Regions from separate parts of the Homo sapiens genome. Here region 1 is linked to region 2. Evidence: promoter capture Hi-C in 16 types of primary human blood cells and fetal thymus (Javierre and others, 2016). All regions are on one chromosome and are shown on one strand. The core of a region is centred on a gene start or on the middle of the fragment in contact, and the rest is flanking DNA. Distances in the headings are between cores, read along the strand shown.

Evidence for each region. The method cuts DNA at HindIII sites, captures the fragments that hold promoters and counts their contacts. A CHiCAGO score of 5 or more calls a contact.
Region 1: a contact is called between a fragment that was not itself captured here and the fragment with the promoter of FTX in region 2, in 1 of 17 cell types (naive CD8 T cells). The highest score is 7.1, in naive CD8 T cells.

Annotation. Positions count from the first base shown.
Region 1 is chrX:73,580,003-73,584,612 of GRCh38, forward strand. CHIC1 (cysteine rich hydrophobic domain 1) reads left to right here. Exons shown (of 6, transcript NM_001039840.4): 3 at 4,415-4,570. Among named protein-coding and RNA genes, the nearest start is that of CHIC1, 19 kb to the left of the region's middle. The HindIII fragment of the contact is 1,572 bases long and covers 1,661-3,232 here.
Region 2 is chrX:74,291,636-74,296,628 of GRCh38, forward strand. FTX (FTX transcript, XIST regulator) reads right to left here and starts at 1,939. Exons shown (of 7, transcript NR_028379.1): 1 at 1,717-1,939. It overlaps LOC124905199 (a long non-coding RNA gene), which reads right to left and starts at 961. Exons shown (of 2, transcript XR_007068266.1): 1 at 123-961. RefSeq lists an enhancer at 403-1,193. The HindIII fragment of the contact is 8,135 bases long and covers 1,034-4,993 here.

The sequences.
Region 1 (4,610 bases), core at 1,197-3,696, 710 kb before region 2:
CTTTGAAATACAGGTCCAAGAAATTCTAGAAATGAATAATCAAAAAAATATGTCAGTGTATAAAATTCCCAGGCATACAAATTATCCATTTTCAAAATTGGCCAATTTTATATGCTCAAGGAATCTTCAGAATATCTTTTCACACCTTCTCATTTCTTTACAAGCCTTCTGAAACTAAAAATTCCAGTGGCCCCAAAGGTAGTAGACTGTTTTAAACTAGAGGAGTAAGAATAATAAGCTGCTTTTGGTATGCACTCACACAACCTAAATTATCTGGATATGAGCTGCTCATAAATATATCCATTCTTTTCAAGTGATTGTTTTTGTAGCACATTGTCATAATGACTTGAGTATTTAAGTGTACATTATGTATAGTGTACAAAATCTATCATGTGTTGGATAAGGCATAAATTATAACTGTGATATTTTTCTTAGCATGTGTTTGGTGATGGGAAAAACACTAAAAGGAATTCTGAAGATCTGATTTAAAAGTCACATGGTGGTAACATTAGCTTTATTCATTTTCTCATTAATGAGATAATTTTTCTCCGACAGGCACTTTCATTTGTTTAGGTTCCTTTGCATTATCAAAATGCTTCTCAGATAACTGGAGAGAAAAGGCAAACATAATTAATGTATATCTGAGGAAAAAAATAAAAGAAAAAAGGTCTAAATTCCAGACTTAACAGCTCTTACATTAAAATATTTTAAAATGAATAACTGTGATAGCTAAAGTAGAAAAAAAATCTACCTTTTATGAAATCAGTCTTCCAATATGAATGTGATTCTAAATAGCTTTTATGCCTGCCTGATGCCTGAGCTAAGCAAAATTGCAGAGGGAAGTCTGAAAACCTAAAAAAACCATTTTGACAAGCTCTGTAGCTCAATATTAATTTTTTGCTTCTTATGTGTTAATGCTTTTAATGCAAACAAAAAGATGACCTTTTATATTAAGTGCAGAAAAGATTGTTTTCCCTATTTCATATCGAACAGATGTATATACACAGATTCTAGTGACCAGAAAAGGGAAGAACCACAGAAATTTAGAAAAGAAAGTAAAGCTTTTGGCCCTCAGCTTGAAACAATTAAACTGTGTTATGGGGAGACTAGTGTGCAGTGTTTGGGGATTGTAAGCAATAAAAACCGACCTTTACTATTGTGTTACAGTATGACAGCTGATTGATAGGGTTGTGTTCCCCATGACTGAAGAAGGCAGATCAGTCCTGCTGCGGTTTGCTTAGAGTTTCTTCTGTTTACAGAGTCTCTTGCATCCTGTTATAAAATATTATGACCCTTTACCCCACCTTTATGGTGTGGTTTTCTTTTTTCATTCCAAGAAAGCCAAAAGAAATGAAATGTTTCTTTACAACCTACTGTTCAGCTAGAAAGTAAGGGTCTTCTGCTGTCTAACCTTCATTGCTAGAGACACTCAATTATATGAAAGTAAATGAGTAAAATGTTAACTCTGATTCTACACAGTTAACTAAACATTTCTTTCACGTTGTTTAAAATTGAGTTTACTAATTCTCACTTCTTATGTCTTTAGCTCTGTTTTATGACTTTTACTGTTGCTCAGATACAGATTTCTTTCAAAGACAATCCTGGTCTCCTTTTAAAGTCAAAATGCAGATTTTAGTTTATTGTTTGAAACTCTAGTAAAAGCTTTTCTTTTCAATATATTTGTCTTATGACCTCAAAAAAAATTTGAATTCTCATTTTTAGTAACTTGAATATTTTAGTTTTTAATTCGTCTATGGTAAGAAAATAGAAATTGAGACCATTATATGTTAAAAAGAAGAAAGTGTTGGCAGGAAAGAAGGAAAATGACCACATTTTTAGGTAATGTTTTTGTTTTCAATTCCAGAAGCATATAATAAAAGGCAAATTTTATAACAAATTTTATATACCTCAACATACAATTTATTTTATTCACAGTGTTTGAAATAAAAAGCTATTTTCTCTTCCCTCTTTTATTCTCTAGCTTTTGTCTCCCTCAGTCTTCTAACACTATTTCATCCCTGGTAGAAGTGGAGCTTTCTTTTCTAAGGCTCCTTATAAACAATTTTTTTTTTCTTTTGGACTGACTCATTTCTGCACCTTTTGGTTTTATTTTTTTTCCATCTGTGTTTGTACTTACTTTTTAAATAAAAATGTAAATTCCAATTATAAGCATTTAAATTTGTAAATGGACAGATTTAATAATTTTATGATTTGCATGAGTTTATATCAAAATTTACCATATTTAAAAATATGTTAGCTATTCTGGATACATAATTTAAAGAGAGTTGACAGTAATGTAATATTACAGATTAAAGCTAAATATGTTCATATTTTTTCTTTATTTTAACTTCTATTTGGTTGCCCAATGATTCCCTAGGAGAAAAGAAGTTGAATATTGCTGTTGGAGAGGTAAATCTTAAGATAGAAACTTGGTACCTTGTTTTTAGAAAGAAGAGCTTGATTTTTCTTTTTTTTTTGCTGAAGAATTAAAGAGCATTGAATCTGCATTTAACATGCAGCAGATTATAAACAAATTATCCTTTTGTTTATAATGTAGTATATAGGAAAACTATGGAATATTAATAGTTACTTGAGTAAACCCATTGCCTTCAGGTGAGACTTCATGCAGAAGAGAGCTGTTTCTTTTCTTTCTCCAAACCTTCTCAGAGACATGATTTATGGACTTTCTTTTTCAAAGCATTTCAGGCAGGAGGTTACTTCCAAGGATTAATTTACATTTTCTGTGAAGTATATAAAACAAAGATTATTATTCTCATTTTATCGGTGGGAAACTGAAACTCAGAAAAATTAAATGAATTTGCCTAGGATTTTTCATAGCTAATAAGTAACTATAATTCAAGTCTCTCGATCTGTTTTTCAGTGTTTTTAGTTTGTCTTAGTTTAATGTGCTTAGTGCACTCTTGTGCACTAAGTTTGTTAGTGTTTTCTAATTTCAATTATAAGGCAAGGCTGTGTGAATTTGTTTTCATATTTACTTAGAAATTTTGCCATTTAATTGGAATTCTTTGCACCCAGTGATTGTCTTTACATCATGTTGCTGACAGTCTAGATGGAGAATGAAATTAGTTTACTTGCTCTGTGTAAACACAGTTTTGAGCCTTATAATTTCACAACTATTGTTTGTTAACATATTAGTAAGAAAATCAGATTCATGGGCTAAGCAATTAACCTTATTGAGTGACATGAACAATTCTAATAAAACTTCTAATAAAGCTTATATATGTAATGTTTAGCTTACTTTAGTGCTGAATTATGTGATCATGTATTTTTATAACATTTGCTAATAGGTATATGTTTTGTAGTGTTGATTCTAAGACATCTCTATTAAGAGACAAAAATGTAATAAATTGATTCCTCGAGTACAATTTTTATTTGGAATAGTAGTAGTAAAGCTCTATATTTTTGATTCCTAACCTGCTAATGCGGTTTTTATTTTATAATACCTTACTTTTCCTAACCATTGCCTAATTTTTGCTTTTATAGCCAGATGCTAAATGTTCTTTCATAAACTTTATAGTCTGACAGCTTTCTAAATGAAAGGGAATCATTTTTGTAATCTAGAAATGTGATTTCACTGAAAGCAAACTATTTTTAGTATATGTTTGAATTGTATAACATTCAAGCAGAATTTTTGGTATAAATCTAATTATTCCAGTCATGTGCATGCCTTTGAACTGACTTTGTCCTTGTTTACAGAGAAGCACAAGCAGCCACTTCCAAGAATGGAGGTAGTAACTAGAAATATTAAACTTGTGTATTTAAAGACCTTTCAACTTTAAAAGTTTACCGCAGTTATGAATCCATTTTATACTGAATATTAACAGGCTGTTTTGAATGCAATCACTAGGCATTGTCTTTTGTTAGTGTAACTAACAGTGGCTAATGTTAAAATTGTTATATTGCAAATTTGCCAGGGAATAAGGGTTTGAGAGTTGCCTTTTTTCAAAGTAATCCAGGAGTATTGCCAAGGTCTAATTTTAATTGCATTTTCTCTAGTAGTATTTGGGTTTTTTATTGTTGTGTTATGCTTCTAGTCTTACCCAGCTTTTACTCAGAATGACTAGAGACTATCAATTATACTGCCTTGATAATGAGAATATTTGGTAAGAAAAAGGCTTGAAAGTTATCCTTTTCCGTCAATTTTATTGCAGTCATTTTATTGGTGGTCATTTCAGAAGATTGATTTTCAACATCAGGCTAAGTTCTATGAACTTGAAATTATATTGTTGTGCTTTTCAACGTCATCCTAGAGTGCGTGAACATATTTATGGGGAATATATCTATTTAGATATTTGTGATTCCTTAAATTATTTGTAATAAATGTTTTTCTTAGATTTAGAGATAAACAGTGAAAAGCTGCCCACAAACTGTTAAAGATTGTACCCTCTTGTAGGTGGCCCCAGAAGAATTTAAAACCAGCATTGGCCGTGTGAATGCATGTTTGAAAAAGGCTCTCCCGGTCAATGTGAAATGGCTGCTGTGTGGTTGTCTCTGCTGCTGTTGCACACTGGGTTGCAGCCTATGGCCTGTTATTTGTCTCAACAAAAGAGTGAGTAACTGTTTTATTGTATAATAATAATAATAACTAA
Region 2 (4,993 bases), core at 689-3,188:
TTCAGAGAGTCATGACAGTACATCTGCCTTTAAAATAGAAACTCTAATCTTCTCCCTTGACAAAACCGTGCTGAAAGTTCTACAGAAGAAAAAATAAAGGAAAGGGTGAAAGCCCAGGTTACCTTCATACCACCACTGCCATTAACTACTTTTCAATCTTTCTCCACGACAGTATGAGTCCCAGGCAGCCATAGGTCCAAATTCCAGGTTTACGGCAAAGAGTAACAAGCATTTGGAAACACATCCAAATCCTCACGCCTATGTTCTCAGGGAAGAAAATCAAGAGCTTTCGGCCAACATTAACATTGGATTCTCACACTACAACCACAGTGTTTTGCTACTCTGATGGGGTGACTGTATTCAGAGCCAAGTACAGCGACCCAAGATCGGAAAGCCAGAGAGCCCTCCGAATGCGTACTGCCCAAATGTGGCCTGTCTCCAAGTGCTCCCTTTTTACGCATTTCCTACGCACCGCCAGCTGCCGCAACCTTTTGCAGAGTCATCATCGCCTCCTCATTTTTGTACCCACTTACCGATAGGCCACTGAGAGGCTAAGATTCTGGGTTAATTTCTAGTGGATCTGGCCACAGCATAGGAGAACTCCAACTCAGGTTGATCCCTTCACTCAGCTAAAAAGGTAGTTCTCTGCAAGGCCTGCTAGCCCAAGATGGCCAAGCAAAGACAGCTTACCTCCCCCCTCGCCATTTTGCAACCTTAATTACCCGAATGCTGAGCGCCTCCCCTCCCCGGCACTCCGTCTGAAATACGCATGCGCGCCGCTTCCTCCTTACCGTTCTCCCCAACCATCCAGATGTTGTCTCAAATATGCATGAGCGCCACCTCTACCTCCCAAACGCTGGTACCAACTCCTAGCAACTTTGCGTTGTTAAATATGCCTGCGAGTCCTTCACTTCCCGACCTTCCAACCCTCCAACCCCGACGCCATTCAAGCCTTGCGCATGCGTGCCTCCCTCTCCCCACCCCCGCCCCACTGGAGCCCGTCCCCTTAACTCAGGTCTTCTCAAATACTGTAAGCTTGAGCGCCGCCCCTCGGCGCCGCGCCTCCTCATCCAGCCTCTCAAATACCCTGCGCACCGCGATAGTCCTCTCTCTTCTTGCTCCCATTTGTATACAGTATGCATGCCTGATGCTATCTGGACGTGTTTCTCGCCACAATTCTGCCCCAGTGCCCAAGGAGAGCCATTACCAGCCTTCCCTAATGCGAGTAGATGCGATAAACTAGGGAAGTTGAATCGGGGAAAGAAGGCGTTGCAGGTGATCAGAGTGAATCCCAGATCTAGATGGAATCGGTCCCAACTCCAAGGGAGGGGGCTAGAGTACCCCAGGATTCACATAAGACCGGTCAACCTGAACAAAGGCAAGGAAAACTTTCACAAACCATCGGATGAACATAATCCTAAGGCCTCGCCCTTTAAATACATCTGCTACAAATGACGAACCACAAATGTTTTAAACAGGGAACATTATGGAAAACACCGATGCTCAGGTGCCTTGACTCTAGTTAGAGGAAAGGAACCCGCATTCCTTTCACAATGGGAAGCAAATGCTCAACATCCTTTTGGAAAACTGGGGCCTGTAACGTATTCCATTTTTTCCTCCCGTGAACTGGAAAAATGCACAAATTAAGGATCTTCCTGGCCCAAGTTCCCTCCGCCGCCCTCCATGTTCTGTTCTTCCCCTACATCGTTCCTTTACCTCCTGGTTGAATTCAGTGTCGTAGCAGGAATTCTTAGAGCTGGCCGTCCCAAGATGGGGTGGAGAGAGCGGCATGAAAGAGAGAGAGAGAGAGAGACACGCCTGAATGGCAGCAGCAGGCCTTAGCGGCAATGGACAGCAGGCACAGGACCAGCTTTGCCTCGAGCCGCAACGCTGATGCCAGAAAAGGACAACCTCTCCAGAATCGCCGCAGTGTGCTTCCAGCGCATGCGCTGCTAACGCCCCTTAACCCCCCCTCCGCGCCCCGCCTCCCCCACGCGCCGCTCTCCAGCCTCTAGGAGTCTAACCCTTAGCGGTCCACCGACCTCCTTCACTTCTTTCCCAGGACGCTATCCCACTCTGCTTCTTCCACCTTTCCCCTCCCCTCGGTCACACTGGCCTCCACCATCATCCCTCCCTCAGCCCATACTTCTTTCGTCAATCCCTCTCCCATTATTCTTAGCCCACCATCTACCTTTATTTCCTCTGCTATCGTTAGTGGTCTACCCTTCAATTCTTCACTTTCCCTGCCAGTCTGCAGCCCTCTTGGGCCTCTTACTCCTCTCCTCCTATGCCTGATGTTGAAATTTGTAAAAATTACCGCAAAAATTTTTTTTTAAATAATTGTAGCCCGGGCGCGGTGGCTCACACCTGTAATCCCAGCACTTTGGGAGGCCGAGGTGGACGGAACCCTTGAGTTCAGGAGTTCGAGACCAGCTCGGGTGACATGGCGAAACCCCGTCTCTACAAATAAATACAAAAATTAGCCGGGCGTGGTGGTGCGCACCTGTACTCCCAGCTATTCAGAAGGCTGAGGTGGAAGAATCACTCGAGCCCAGGAAGTCGAGGCTACAGTGAGCTATGATTGTGCCAGCTATGATGTTGCCAGCCTGGGCAACAGAGTGAGACCCCATCTCAAAAAAAGAAAAAAAATATTTCCACACATCCTCTCCAAAGCAGCTCTCAGGGTGAGCTCAACCAGCCTGTCTTGGGCAAAGAGAACACCTTTTTGATGATGACCCACAGGGAAGATCCAGAGACAGGGAACCAGAACAAAAACTGCAAAAGTGTTCAATCAATTTGGGGGTAAGAGGCAGTAGACCACCAACATGGAAAGCTCTTTTCTTTCTATTCACAACCCTGGTATTGTCTGGACATTAAAAATGAGATTCAATGTCCTTCACTGCTTACTACAAGGCCTGTTCTTGTCTTCTGTAAGAACTCAAATATTAATTTTGAGGGAAATGGCATTATTTACTTAAGAGGCTCTGAAATAGATCCCTCTTTGGGTGTGAACTAGAAAGAATACAAAATAATATTTTGTTTCTCTTTATTATGTTTTACTTTGGTGTCTGGTTCTTATTGCTTTCTAAAAGAGCCAGTTTGGAAATACCAAAAACTGAGACCCGCAAATTCATAAATCCTAAAACTCATAAACTTATACATCACCATCCTCTCAAATTAACTTAAGAATGTTATATCAACATTATTCAGAGAAAAATGGGTTTGCATTTGTTATATAATACGCCCAAAAAATTATACAACAATGTGCATATGAAGAAGAAAAAAGAGAAATAGGCATGCATTAAATAAAAAAGAAATGCCGAAATCTCAGTGGTACAAAGAACCTCTTCTAAATTAAAATAATCATTTATTATTACACAAAAGTTAAAATATAAGAAATTTTACCCCAAATTCTACAACACTATTTTAACAAATGCTCTTATCTCTGTTATTTTTCTGTTTTAATGGTTTTATTAATATATAATTTACATATCATACAGTTAACCAACTTAAAGTGTACAATGCAATGGATTTTAGTATATTCACAGAATTATGCAGCCACCACTACAATCAATTTTAGAATATTTTCATCACCCCAAAAAGAAACTTCATACCCATTAGTATTGTCTTAGTCCATTATGTACCACTGTAACAAAATACTGCAGACTCGGCAATTTATAAAGAACAGAAATTTATTTCCTCACAGTTCTGGAGAATGGGAAGTCCAAGACTGAGGAGCTGGCATCTGACAGTGGCTTTCCTGCTACATCATCCCATGGTGGAAGGGCAAAGAGATAGAGAAAGAGAGAGTGCGCGCAAGAGGGGGCCAGAACTCATCCTTTAATAAGGAACCCACTACTGAAATAACAAACCCACTCCCTCAATAATAGCATTAAGCTATTCATAAGAGTGGTGCCCCCATGACTCAAACACCTCCCTTTAAGCCTCACCTCCCAACACCACCACATGGGGCATCAAATTTCCAACATATGAACTTTGAGAGACATATTCAAACCATAGCAAGCATCTTTGTGTTCTCTTATGATTTTTGTTCAAATATATAATGTTTTGGCTGGGCGTGGTGGCTCATGCCTGTAATCCCAGCACTTTGGGAGGCCAATGCAGGAAGATTGCCTGAGACCACAAGTTCGAAACCAGCCTTGGCAACATAGCAATACCCTGTCTCTATTTAAAAAAAAAAAAAAAAAGAGGTGGGGGCCAAGCACAGTGGCTCGCACCTGTAATCCCAGTACTTTGGGAAGCCAAGGCAGGCAGATCAGTTAAGGTCAGGAGTTCAAGACCAGCCTGGCCAACATGGTGAAACCCCGTCTCTACTAAACATGCAAAAATTAGCTGGGCGTGGTGGCGGGCACCTGTAATCCCAGCTACTCGGGAGGCTGAGGCAGCTGACTCGCTTGAACCTGGGAGGCAGAGGTTATAGTAAGCCGAGATCATGCCACTGCCCTCCAGCCTGGGTGATAGAGTGAAACTCCATCTCAAAAAAAAAAAAAAAGGAAAGAAAGAAAAAGAAAAAATGTATATATAATGTTTTAACATTAACTTTTTTTTTTTTTTGAGACAGTCTTGCTCTGTGGCCCAGGCTGGAGTGCAATGGCACGATCTCGGCTCACTGCAATCTCTGCCTCCCAGGTTCAAGCGATTCTCCTGTCTTAGCCTCCTGAGTAGCTGGGATTACAGGCGCCCGCCACCACGCCCGGCTAATTTTTGTATTCTTAGTAGAGATGGGGTTTCACCATGTTCGTCAGGCTGGTCTCGAACTCCTGACCTCGTGATCCGCCCGCCTCGGCCTCCCAAAATGCTGGGATTACAGGTGGGAGCCCTTGCACCTGGCCTAACGTTAACATTTTTTATGACACTATATTTGTGTTTGAGGCTGTGTTTTTACCATGCACAGATGAATATTCATCAGCAAACAGATTTAGTTCTGTTTCTTCCAAGGAACTTCTACTTCTACCTTCATCTCAGGCAAGGA